Regions from separate parts of the Homo sapiens genome. Here regions 2 and 3 are each linked to region 1. Evidence: promoter capture Hi-C in human tissues and cell types (Jung and others, 2019). All regions are on one chromosome and are shown on one strand. Each heading gives the region's core, a stretch centred on a gene start or on the middle of the fragment in contact. The rest is flanking DNA. Distances are from core to core; before and after follow the strand shown. Region 1 holds the start of EPHX2 (epoxide hydrolase 2). Region 2 overlaps CCDC25 (coiled-coil domain containing 25). Region 3 overlaps ESCO2 (establishment of sister chromatid cohesion N-acetyltransferase 2).

What was found. The method cuts DNA at HindIII sites, captures the fragments that hold promoters and counts their contacts. A contact is called where the count stands out against the background at its distance.
Region 2: a fragment that was not itself captured here is called in contact with the fragment with the promoter of EPHX2 in region 1 in 1 of the 25 tissues and cell types used here (hippocampus).
Region 3: a contact is called between a fragment that was not itself captured here and the fragment with the promoter of EPHX2 in region 1, in 1 of the 25 tissues and cell types used here (dorsolateral prefrontal cortex).

The regions. Positions count from the first base shown.
Region 1 is chr8:27,489,275-27,493,619 of GRCh38, forward strand. It overlaps EPHX2 (epoxide hydrolase 2), which reads left to right and starts at 1,869. Exons shown (of 19, transcript NM_001979.6): 1 at 1,869-2,035. The coding sequence starts at 1,935. RefSeq lists a silencer at 1,673-1,952. The HindIII fragment of the contact is 8,102 bases long and covers 1-2,259 here.
Region 2 is chr8:27,761,911-27,766,029 of GRCh38, forward strand. It overlaps CCDC25 (coiled-coil domain containing 25), which reads right to left. Exons shown (of 9, transcript NM_018246.3): 2 at 3,294-3,341; 3 at 509-548. Among named protein-coding and RNA genes, the nearest start is that of CCDC25, 8.7 kb to the right of the region's middle. The HindIII fragment of the contact is 3,611 bases long and covers 1-3,307 here.
Region 3 is chr8:27,779,052-27,783,423 of GRCh38, forward strand. It overlaps ESCO2 (establishment of sister chromatid cohesion N-acetyltransferase 2), which reads left to right. Exons shown (of 11, transcript NM_001017420.3): 4 at 1,123-1,216. Among named protein-coding and RNA genes, the nearest start is that of ESCO2, 6.7 kb to the left of the region's middle. The HindIII fragment of the contact is 3,612 bases long and covers 619-4,230 here.

The DNA of each region.
Region 1 (4,345 bases), core at 619-3,118:
GAGTAAGATGTTGAGTAAGAAGTTGGCAAGTCTGGAGCCCAAAGGAAACTCTAAGTTGGAGATTTAATTTCTTTCTTTTTTTTTTTTGGAGGTAGAGTCTTGCTGTGTCACCCAGGCTGGATGGAGTGCAGTGGCACAATCATGGCTCACTGCAGCCTCCACTTCCTGGGCTAAAGTGATCGTCCCACCTCAGCCTCCTGAATAGCAGAGACTACTGGCATGCACCACCATGCCTAGCTAATATTTTATTTTTATTTTTTATAGAGAGAATGTCTTGCTTTGTTGCCCAGGCTTGTCTCAAACTCCTGGCCTCAAGCAATTCTCCCACCTCAGCCCCAAAGTGCTGGGATTACAGGTGTGTGCCACCATGCCCAATCTGGAGATTTAACAGGTTTCATACTATATAGGTCAGGCTGCAATTTTCTTTCTATTTTTTAAAATTCAATTATACCTTTGAGATCAACTAACTTCATGAGAAACTAGCTTGCTGTACTCCCTTCTCTGCCTATCTTTCAGTCTTCAAATCCAGAGTAATCCAGTTTCTACCATAAAGGGCCCACAAAAAGTGTTCTGAAACATCCGGTGTCATCCAAGTCCAAAATTGGACAGCTTTTTTTTCAGTTCTTCCTGTAACATTTGGCAGTGTTGGCCACTCTCTGCTTCTTTGGCAAGAATCTCAGAAAACACTAATAACTGCTCCAGGCAGGAGCCTGGAAGAGGTTACCAAGCTAGAGAAGGAAGCAACAGCATAGCTTGCTAAGGGCAAACAGCCCAGAGGAAACCCACGGCTCTGGTCAATCCTGTTGTTGATTGCTAGATCCAGAGACTGTTGTAGACCTCCCAGTTACAGTGAGGTATCTGACAACCCCTCACAAGGTTCTTGAAGCTCCGTGGTGGAGGGTATCTTGGATAAATCCACAGAGACACATTCAAGAGTAAATTCTCCACTGTTGGAGACCTCACTCACTCTGTTTGGTCTCCACCAAAGACACGGTTTTTAATTCATGGAGCTGCACTACAACAGCTCAAGAACTCCCAGCCAAAGTTTTAGTTTTTCTAGGAACATAAACGAGCCAATAGTGTGGAAATCGGTGATTAAAAACAAACCTCGCACATTTTAAGACAGAATTATTACAAGTAGCATGTACAAAAGGAAAATAATAGCCTACATTTAGTTCTTCTAAGCTTCATTCCACAAGAGATTGAAATCGAAGTATTCTGGGCTGGCACACGATAGCTGGAACATCATATTTTATTCTAGAAACACATTTGCCTTGGCAAAGAAGAGCGTGCCTAGAGGAGTGGTCAGGATAGTGAGGGATCTGTGATCCTTCGTTCTGAATCTAGAAAAGTCACTGGATATGCCCCTCCCCCGCCCCCCAACACGGTCTTATGTTCTGAATGTAGAAGTCACTGGATGTGCTGACACACACACACACACACACACACACACACACACACACACACACACACACACACAGAGTCTGTGGCCTCTTTCCCAGGCATTCCAAGTCCAGCAAGTTCGCAGGGAGCTGTCAGTCCGTCCAGGAAGGCCCGGGCCTGGGTTTGCCTCTTCAAGCAGCTACTGCAGGGGCGTGGGGAGGGGGCATAAGAGACTTTGGACTTTCCTTTGAGACAGTAGAAAGCGTTACATCCAGAGGCGAGATTCTAGCCTGGGGTCCCCGCCTTCCCGGCCTCCTCTTCCTCTCCCTCTGACTCCCTTTCCTGTGCCCCTCCCCCTGCCTCTTTCCCGGCCAGAGTCCAGCCTTAACCCGGGCAGAGGGCGGAGTCCCGTTAAGGGGGTGTGGGGAGGAGGCGGGGCCAGGGCAGGGGCGGGGCAGAGCCGGGCCAAGCTGGGCGGGTCATGCGCCCTGGCCTTCGCGCATCTCCCAGGTTAGCTGCGTGTCCGGGTGCTAGGCTGCAGACCCGCCGCCATGACGCTGCGCGCGGCCGTCTTCGACCTTGACGGGGTGCTGGCGCTGCCAGCGGTGTTCGGCGTCCTCGGCCGCACGGAGGAGGCCCTGGCGCTGCCCAGGTAAGGGGGCCCAGCGCCGCCGCCGCAGTGGGTCGGGGCCTCAGGAGGCAGACCGCGCTGGGCTTGCAGCCCAGCTTTCAGATTGCTCCTGTGCCGGAGCCCTGCGAATCATGCGAATCATGAAACTGAAGACCTGGCCCTGAAGTCCCAGTGCATATGAGGAGATCCGTTGTCTTTCTAAATGTTCATAATTAAACGTTGCCAAGGTCTCCAAAATTGCTTTCTGTGAACTTTTCCAAAAGGGAGAGGAGTTACTCATGGAGCTTTGTGCTTCTGCTGCCTCCTGTCTAATGGGGTGGCGCTTAAAGATGCGAGCCGAGATTCAGGAGAGAAGAAAGTTCTCTCCCCAGGTGTGGGTTGCATGCTTACTTGTGTAATAGCAAACTGCAGCAACCGCCCAAAGCCACATCACTGGGAAATGGTAGATGGGGTGTGCAGAGTGAGAGCTCAGGGACTTGGGAAAACACCTGTTCTACTACATGAAAAAACCACCCCACCAGAATCTGAAGCTATTTATACAATATGGTTTCAGCTATGGAAAAAAGGTACATGCAGAAAAGTGCCTGAAAGAAATAGGCCAAAGTACATCAAATGAGATTAGGAATAATGTAATGATTTTCTTTCTCTCTCTCTTTTTTTTGTGTTTTTTTTTTTTGTAGTTTCCAACTTCTAAATTTATAAACAATGTATTATTCCCACATTCAGAAAGGAGAGAAGTATACTTATTTATAAAGTGAAAAAGAAGGCCAGGCATGGAAGCCATTGTTCATATCCTCCTTTTACATATGAGGAAACTGAGGCACAGAAAGAAACCAGCTGTCCAAATCACATAGCTGTTAAAGAGCAGAGCCAGAAATCCAACCCCAGTAGTCCATGTCCGGAGCCTTTGCTTTTAATATAGTAAGGAAGATGAGATGGCAAGTAGCTTGAGGGAAAGGCATGTAATCTCTGTGCTTTGGGAAGCTAAGGTGGGAGGATCACTTGAGGCTGAGAGTTCAAGACCAGCCTGGGTGAAAGAGCAAGACCCTGTCTCTCCAAAAATAAAAATAAAATTAGCTAGACATTAGTGCATGCATGTAGCCCCAGCTACTTGGGAGGCTAAGGCAGAAGGATTGCCTGAGCCCAGGAGTTGGAGGCTATAGTTGTGTCCAGAGTTGGTTCCTGTCGGTGGGTTCGTGGTCTTGCTGACTTCAAGAATGGAGCTGTGGACCTTCGCAGTGAGTGTTACACTCGTAAAGATGGCGCAGACCCAAAGAGTGAGTGATAGCAAGGTTTATCGTGAACAGCGAAAGCACAAAGCTTCCACAGCATGGAAGGGGACCCCAGCAGGTTGCCGCTACTGGCTGGGGTGGCCAGCTTTTATTCCCTTATTGTCCTCTCCCATGTTCCATTTCTGTCCTATCAGAGTGCCCTTTTTTCAATCCTCCCCGTGATTGGCTACTTTTAGAATGCTGCTGATTGTGCGTTTTACAGAGCGCTGATTGGTGCATTTTACAATTCTCTTGTAAGACAGGAAAGTTCCCCAAGTCCCCACTCGACCTAGGAAGTCCAGCTGGCCTCACCTCTCAATCCTCCCTCATAACAGGACACCCCACCTGCTACTGGGAACTGGGTGATGACCACTCTAGCTACTTCCTGCTGGATAGGGGCAAAGAAGGGGCCCTGCCGTTGTAGTGTCCTCCAGAGGGGAACTCTCTAGGCCAGTCAAAGGGCCAGTGGGTCAGTCTAGCAGTCCTCGGTAGAAGTTGTGAGTTAAGCTCATTTGGGGTTCCATTTGTAAGACCATCTGTAGCTTGATGGCCTTGATCCTGGAGGAAACAAATTTGAGGAGGAGGTTAAAAATACAGGGACTGAAGGTGAGTAATAGCAAGATGGCTGTCACGGGACCTAGAAAGGGGAGAAGCCAAGTCACCCAACTCCAGAGGTTGGTATAAGAATTTGAAAGGTGTTGTCTGGTTTCAGAAGCCTTTTCCTGTAAATGCCAGGCAGCATCCTGTACTATCCCTGACTGGTTAGTTTAAAAACAACACTCCTCCCCTAAGAAGGTGCAAAGTCCTCCTTTCTCAGCAGTGAGGAGGTCTAGACCTTAGCGGTTTTGGAGAGTCACTGTTGCCAAATAGTCTATTTGGGATTGTAGAGTAAGGATAGATTTATTTATTGCAAACTGTCTGAGAAATCCTTTGAGAGTGTATGGTAGTAGGATAATGAAGTAGTTAAACTGGCTATTCTGGTTCCTGTAGCAGTGGGCATTCCTAGCCCTATAAGTAGGGGTATTAGTTGTATGGTCCTGGGCTGACAGACTTGAGCTTT
Region 2 (4,119 bases), core at 252-2,751, 270 kb after region 1:
AAACAGTTCACATAAATTGTTTTAGAAAGAAGGCGTCGGGGTTGGATCAAGACAGAGCTAAACTCATCAGGGAGTTTAGAAGACAAAGGGGAACAAGTGTGCTTCCTTTAAAGCTGGACCAGTAAGAACCTCCGTCTATTCCATCCGCATGGATGCTTGTATCTATTTTCTTCATTGCTTCATGTGAAGTCTTCATTTTTCCACTCAAGAACAGTGGTCTGAATATTTAAGTGAGGTGTGGTCTCAGTAACTTACTATGGCGTGGAGACAAAAAGGAGGAAAAAGAAGGCCTGTGTCCTAGAGGCCTTTGCTCTCAAGCCTGAGATCAAACCCAAAAACATCATTTCCAACTTGCAAGGTAATTAGAAATGAAGGAACTGGCAGTCAGCTGTTTAACCCTGAAGACCCATAAACCACAGTACAAAGCATGATTCTAGTTTGAATGCTTGGCCAAGTCTAAGAAAGGAAATGATGATCTACAGAGGGCAGAACCAAAATTGTTACTTACCAGATATCTTCAGGCCAGCCATGCTTGATCAGATCTTCATCTGCAATGAGATATGAGAAACGAAAGAAACAAAAACTGTCAAATGAAGATATGCCAGGGTTTATAAGAATGGGAGAAATGTCAGCTCCTCCCACAAATTTCTCTCTCCCTCAATGAAGAAGAGTAATTCGGAGGCCTTGATGCTTGAAAATACAGAAAAAATAATAATTTTCATAATTGAACAATATGAACTTTATAATTTTTATAAATTTATATAATACTTCTAATCTAAAGCTCAGATATTATTTCTATATGAAGATAATAAAACTAACACTGACAAAACAAAGCAACCAATAGTTCAGATGTTTCAGATAATCAATTCACCTAATAATACTTAAACATTAAAAAGAACTGGCTGAAACTTTAAAGAAATATTTTACTTCTTTAAGAAAAATTAACTTGATTATAAAATTACAGAAAATTTAAAACAAAACAAACATTAGAAGTATAAAAAGAAAATAAAAATCACCTTAAATTCTATCACACATGGAAATAAAACACCAGAAGAAATAGCTAACAGAGTGAAAAGTAATTGTCTGGGGAGGTAGCAGGTGGGGTGGAACATGGGTATTAAGAAGGATTCTTTTTTTAATTCTAAGCATTCTATTACTACTTGACTTTTTAAACTATGTATTTGTTAGATACAAATAAAAATAAAGTTCTTTGGGAACAATGACTACCTAATTCTCTTATATGAATAAACTTTTCTATTGTTGGCCCTTGGTTTGTTTCTAATTATAAATGGTTCAATAAATTTTTTAAGTAAAGTTGTCCATATTTCTGATTATTTCCTTAAGGTATATTTCTAAAAGCTAAAGTATTCGCTCAAAGTGAATGCACATTTTTTAAGGCTAATATATATCACTACATAAAGGTTATATCAATAAATATTTCTACAGCCATATTAATAATTAGTAATAATTCTGTTTAATACAGAATTATTTAAGTATTAAATGCCAATTTAAAAATCATAAACAATACTGGGCACAGTGGCTTACGCCTGTAATCCCAGCACTTTGGGAGGCTGAGGCGAGCAGATCACCTGAGGTCAGGAGTTTGAGACCAGCTTGGCCAACATGGTGAAACCCCATCTCCACTAAAATTACAGAAATTAGCCAGGCATGGTAGCACGTGCCTGTAGCCCCAGCCACTCGGGAGGCTGAGGTGGGAGAATTGCTTGAATCCAGGAGGTGAAGGTTGCAGTGAGCTGAAATCACGCCACTGCACTCCAGCCTGGGTGACAGAGTGGGAAACTGTCTCAAATAAATAAATAAATAAATAAATTGTGAATGATTCATATGTGATGATTTAAAATGTACCCAAGAAAGTATGGTCTATATAATTTGAATGGGGTATTTACCATCCAGAAAAGGAAAAGCAAAAGGAAGACACATCTTGGGTAAAGGCACTCATAACAGTCGTAGACACTATGAGTTTTCTGAAAGGCTTTCTAATGCTTTAAGTAGGACTGAGCAAATAGCCAAAAGGTAAGCAAAAAAAGGAAAGAGAAATTTAAAAAATCTCTTTCCCTCAGTCAGGCAAAGTTTGGCTCCCTGATGACACCTGCTGGCTGATAAAAAGAACAGACCTGAAAGCTTTTCAGTGAAAGTAAATCATTCCACTTAAATTGATGTTTCTATCGAGTTCTTGGTCTGAAGTCATAAACACTATTAGAAATAAATGTAATGGGCTAGGAATGCCAGACAATGGGGTGATTTAGAGAAGTAATGTCCGTTCTTACAAGGCAACCTAGGAAAAGTTGATACCTCCAAATGACTCTAAGAGTTCCCAGGGAAAAAGTGTTCCATACATACATACATTCACTTACTTCAGACAACAGATTCTCGCTGTCTCTTAAGCTGGAATGCAGTGGCATGATCACAGCTCACTGCAGCCTACCTCCCAGGCTCAAGCGATCTTCCTGCCTCAGCCTCCAGAGTAGCAAGGACAACAGGTGTGTGTCACTATGCCCAGCTAATATTTTCTTTTATTGTTGTTTTTTGTAGAGACAGGGTCTCCCTATGTTGCTCAGGCAGGTCTCGAACTCCTGGGCTCAAGTGATCCTCTCGCCTCAGCCTGTCAAAGTGTTGGGATTACAGGCGTGAACCACCATGCCTGGCCTCTTACGTTTTTTTCTACAAAGGTTTTTAATGACAGCAAAATGCCACTCCAGAGGGCTCTAAAAATATCATCTAAATTTATATCTGTGACATAAATTATGTATCTAGATTTGTATCTATATATTCCTACAATAGACATTCAAAGGATTCCACAATCTAGTCCATCCTAACCCACTCCTCCACAAAGCCTTCTCAGCTTTCAATCACATTTACTATCTCTGATCTGTCTACTTCGACAGCATTTACTATTCATGTTACTTCATTTTGTCTATACTTTTTAAAAAATAGACCTTAGTACTTTTTCATGATAATAAAGTTGTGACATTAACTTTGGGTGTGATTTAATGGTGAAGCAGTCTGCAGCATATTAACACTTGAGTTTTACATTTCTCCTACTAACCCATAAATCATCACAAGTAACATTGATAGTTAAAGCATTTTTCTTATGTAGCTTAGGAGGTGCTGCTGTCTCCCTATGTGAGCTTGTTCTGTTTCTCAAAAGCTAGTTTATCAAAGTAGGTGAAAACTCAGAACCAACAAACTGGGTGGGGGGCATGGAAGGTGGTGAGTGAGAGATAACACTTACCTGCTGAAAATTTCAAAATCAAATGCTTTTGAAAACTTACTTTCATATTTATCTTTTCCCATGTAAATAGTGTAGGCAGATGAATTAACTAAGATAAAACAAAAATAAAAAACAATTAGTAACTTCATCACCAACAAAATTGTTTCATGTGAAAAACAAGTGACAATTCTTAGACTAGGGGCTGGCAAACCATGGCCCATGATCCAAATCCAGCCTACCACCTGTTTTTGGACAGCCCTTGAGCTAAGAATGGTTTTTACGTTTTTAAAGGGTTGGAAAAAAAGCAAAACAAAGAAGAATAAGCCACGGAGATTGTAGGTGACTCACAAAGCCTAAAATATTTACTATCTGGCCCCAAAAGAGAAAGTTTACCATCCTTACTAATAGCTACTTTCCTACTTTCTCAGGGTTACAGTTCAATGGTATCGCCAGTCCAGTCCTATACTTTTGCCTTCTTTAAGAGTTAAAAAAAAAAGAAAAGAAAAGAAAACTAAACACCACAACTAAGTTCCCATGTTTACCAAAGTTTTATTGTGCATAATTGTTTTTAGCCAATATTACCCATATTCCAGGTGTGCTGCATATTCTAACAGGCTCTCTATCACATTCAGGGAGACCATGACTCTCCAACTTCTAAACCAGTGACTCTGACCCCTGATCTACATTAGAATCATCTAATTATGCCCCAGCTCCACCTCAGATCAACTCAATCCAAATCTCTGGTGGGCAAGAGTGAGCATCTGTGTTTTCTAAAAGCCTTCCAAGTGATTCTAATATAAGGTCAGGGTTAGAAACAACTATCCTAACTCAAATGGAATCTTCTGGGTATGGTTTATCCTAGAAATGATATTTGCTTTACCAAGGTG
Region 3 (4,372 bases), core at 1,175-3,674, 290 kb after region 1:
TTGTAGGCACCGGCCACCACACCTGGCTAATTTTTGTATTTTTAGTAGGAACGGGGTTTCACCCTCTCAGCCAGGCTGGTCTTGAACTCCTGACTTTGTGATCCACCTGCCTTGGCCACCCAAAGTGCTGGTATTACAAGTGTGAGCCACCGCGCCTGGCCGGTGAATCTGATTTTTGTGAGGATACCCTTTCCCCAACTCATGGAGCCCTGAAAAGTGTTAAACTGATGGGTTATCCCACCTCTGCTGGGATATTATGGTTTTGAGTAGAAGTTCTACTTTAACCAAGAGTTTTTTTCCTTTTTCCCCAAGCTATATATTCCCTAGTAATTCCCAAATTAGTATGAGGGAAATCTGTCAGGATTTTTTTCTACTTTGCTTTTCCCACATTCCTGCTACTCTCCAGTGACTCTAGAATGTTCTTTCCTTAGCTGCTGATTTTTAAAGTTTATGGCAAAAAGTTGTCCCTTTCCAGTTTGGTGGCTGCTGGGGAAACTTTTGCCATTTTTACTGGCTTTTTTGTTCATTTCATTATGGAAGTGATGGTCTGTAATCATTCTGCCATCTCTGTCAGGAAGTATAACACATTTTTGAGAGGATGACAGATTACAACACGTGTACTCTGGCTTTTTTTTCTTTTGAGACAGTCTTGCTCTGTTGCCAGGCTGGAGTGCAGTGGCACGATCTTGGCTCACTGCAACCTCCGCCTCCTGGGTTCAAGCAATTCTCCTGCCTCAGCCTCCCGAGTAGCTGGGACTGCAGGTGCCACCACGCCCAGCTAATTTTTGTATTTTTAGTAGAGATAGGGTTTCACCATGTTAGCCAGGATGGTCTCAATCCCTTGACCTCGCAATCTACCCACCTCGGCCTCCCAAAGTGCTGGCATTACAGGCATGAGCCACCGGGCCCTGCTGTACTCTGGCTTTAAAGGTAATGTACGCTTAGTGAATACAGGGGAAGTTTTCCTAAAAATAGTTTGAAAATTGATTGAAAATCACATTATGAAATGTAATTCATAATAAACCAAATCTTTTGTTTTAGAAATAGATCTGCTGGGATTCATTCACTAGAAAATAGTTAAAAATTACAGATGTTTGGTTTTTTTTTTAAACCTATTTTCAGGATTCATCAGATGACAGAGTTTCTTCAAAGGAACATAAAGTTGATAAAAATGAGGCTTTTTCTTCAGAGGATTCTCTTGGTGAGAATAAGACAAGTAAGAGAAAACTCGCATGAATTTAGCTGCTTAAAATAATGCTTTATTACATACATTATACAATAATAATTCTTGTAATTTCTGGGTCTTTCTTTTTTCAGTAGCGTGCCTGTGGTTAGTATCTTTGTTTATCTCTGTGACACTGTTTTCTGTAGTAAAGCAGTGCATTGCGTTTTGAAAAACAAGAAACAAGGAGATCCTAGGTTAAAATTTTAGACAAAATATTAGGCTTAATTGGTCTATGGCTGTGGCCAAGTTACTTAAGCTCTCTAGAGTTGAGTGTTCTCATTATAAAATCATACCTACTCTATCTTTCACCCAAAATAATAGAAGTTAAAACTATTATGTATATTTGTGATCAAAGCCCAATTGTGAGCAGAACTTACTAAGTTTTATAAGTGACACTGAAATTAAGCATCAAGAACCATGGATTTTTGTCTAGGTTTACTAATAATTAGCTGTATGATCTAGGAAGATATCTCTAAAGAGTTAAAGTTAATTTTTAAATTCCTGTCAATTCTGAAATCCTATTCCTAATTTATGCTGTCAGTGTTCAATTAAATAGCTTACTAAACTATGAATACATAAAGCTTTTTTTTATGATTCTGAGATATGATGTTAATAACTAGTATTTACTGAGTGCTGAATATAAGGCAGTGCTAAATATTTAGTATACGTTATGTTTTTCATAGATTGTGCTCAAAGCACTGATACAATAGAAAATATAACAAAAAGGCATCTACTTAAAATAGTTATAAATTTTTCTTTTAAAATATATTTTAGTACATTGTCTAAGTCAATTTAAAGAAAAATAGTGAATAAAAATAATACAAATGGTATAAGGATATGGGAGAAATCATAAAAGTAATATAAAAAGACCAAAACTTTATTACTTAATAACTACAGTTTATCATTTAATTCTCCCTACTACTCTAGGTCCTGATATGCCCATTTATAGATGAGGAAATGGACTTGGGTTAAGTAACTTACCAATAGCAGCTCAGACTTTCACCTGCCTTGGCCTTGTTTCTAGAGGATGAGCTCTAATTATTTTTCAATGCAAAGTTAAAGTTTGTTTTTTTAGCCCACTCTCAGCTTACTATTTTCCTCAAATCAATTGCTGTTTTAACTTTGCTCTTTTCTTTTAATAGACTTTATTTTGCCATAATTTTAGATTTACAGAAAAGTTAAAGTACAGAGAGTAGCAGTGTATCTCTTACCCTGTTTCCTCCATTCTTAACATCTTATGTTATAATACTTTTGTCAAAACTAAGAAACTTGTATTGGTATAGACTTTTTTTTTTTTTTTTTGAGATGGAGTTTCACTGTGTTGCTCAGGCTGGAGTGCAGTGGCACCATCTTGGCTCACTGCAGCCTCCACCTCCAGGGTTCAAGCATTTCTCCCGCCTCAGCCTCCCAAGTAGCTGGGATTACAGGCATCCACCACCATGCCCGGCTAATTTTTGTTAAGATGGGGTTTCACCATGTTGGCCATGCTGGTCTCAAACTCCTGACCTCAAGTGATCCCCCCACTTCAGCCTCCCAGAGTGCTGGGATTACAGGCATAAGCCCTTGTGCCTGGCCCTAAGCACTAGACTTTATTTGGAGTTCACCAAATATTGGTAGTGGTATATTACTGTTAACTAAACTCTAAACTTTATTTGGAATCTTCTATTAATGTTTTCTTTCTGTCCCAGTATCCATTCCAAGGTACTATATTACGTTTAATTGTCATGTGTCTTTAGTCTTATCTGTGACATTTTCTGTCTTATTTCTTTGTTTGCATATTGCCAGCTGGACGTTGATATTTCCAACTCTAATCCAGTACTCCAGGATTTATTCTATCCTTTTTTCATCTGTAACTTCCTTCTCGGACAGTGAGACACTTAGTTCCTACTATTCACTATCCATCTACTTATTTGTTCTGTCCCAGTAAACATGTAAAACAGTTTCATAATTGTTAATTCATACCCCTGTGAGAAATAACCAATTAGAGTGCAATTTTTTTCTCTTTGAGACAGAGGCTCACTCTCACCCAGGCTGGAGTGCAATGGCGTAATCTCAGCTCACTGCAACCTCTGCCCCCAGGGTTCTAGCGATTCTCTTACCTCAGCCTCCCAAGTAGCTGGCATTACAGGTGTCTGCCACCATGCCCGGCTAATTTTTTTGTATTTTTAGTAGAGACGGGGTTTCGCCACGTTGGGCAGGGTGGTCTCAAACTCCTGACCTCAGATGATCCACCCGCCTTGGCCTCCCTTACCTTTCATCTCATAGTTCATGTTGAGGTTGAGATGAATCTTATCTAATTCAGTCTCTTTTTCTATATGTAATTATTGCTGAAGTAAGCTTTTGTGGAATCCTATATCAGCTCATGCCATTCTTCTCTAAATGTGATATATTTTCAATTTTTTCCCTTTGTAGAATTCCATATATAGTTAAATAATATATATATATTAAATAATATATTTTTTAGGATGACAGGCGTGAGCCACTGCACTCGGCCTAGAGTGCAATTTTAAGTGCAATCTTTTTGTCTTTATCCTTATAACTTCTAGTCAAAACACCATTTGCTAAAGTTACTTAGGACAGCTTCTCTTTTTCCCCCTACCTCCTTCAGTGTCGTTATGCTATACAGTTCTAATATAGTTAGATTCATTTCTCACAGTCTGCATTCCATCTTAGGCTACCTCAGTAGCCTGGTTGATATTTATATGTATTTTTTTTTCTCATTTGATGTACATTGGAGTTCATTCTTTGTGATTTTTACAGTTCTGTGGGTTTTATCAAATGTATAGAATTACGTATTAGCCATTACAGTACCATACAGAACAGTTCCTTCACCCTAAAATTTCCCTATGCCTACATTTTATTGTTACTCTCCTTCCCCTCAGCCCCCTGGCAACAATTAATCTGCTTTTTATTTCTATAGTTTTACCTTTTCCAGGAAAAACATTACACATATATATCCTTTGGGGTCTGGCTTATTTCACTTAGTAATACATTTAAGGTTCATCCATGTTGTTGGGTGTATCAGTAGTAATTCTCATTTATTGCTGAACTATTGACATACCATAAGCATTCTTTATATATTCTGGATACAAGTTTTTGATCAGATATATGATTGCAAATATTTTCTCCCCTCAATCTGTGGCTTAC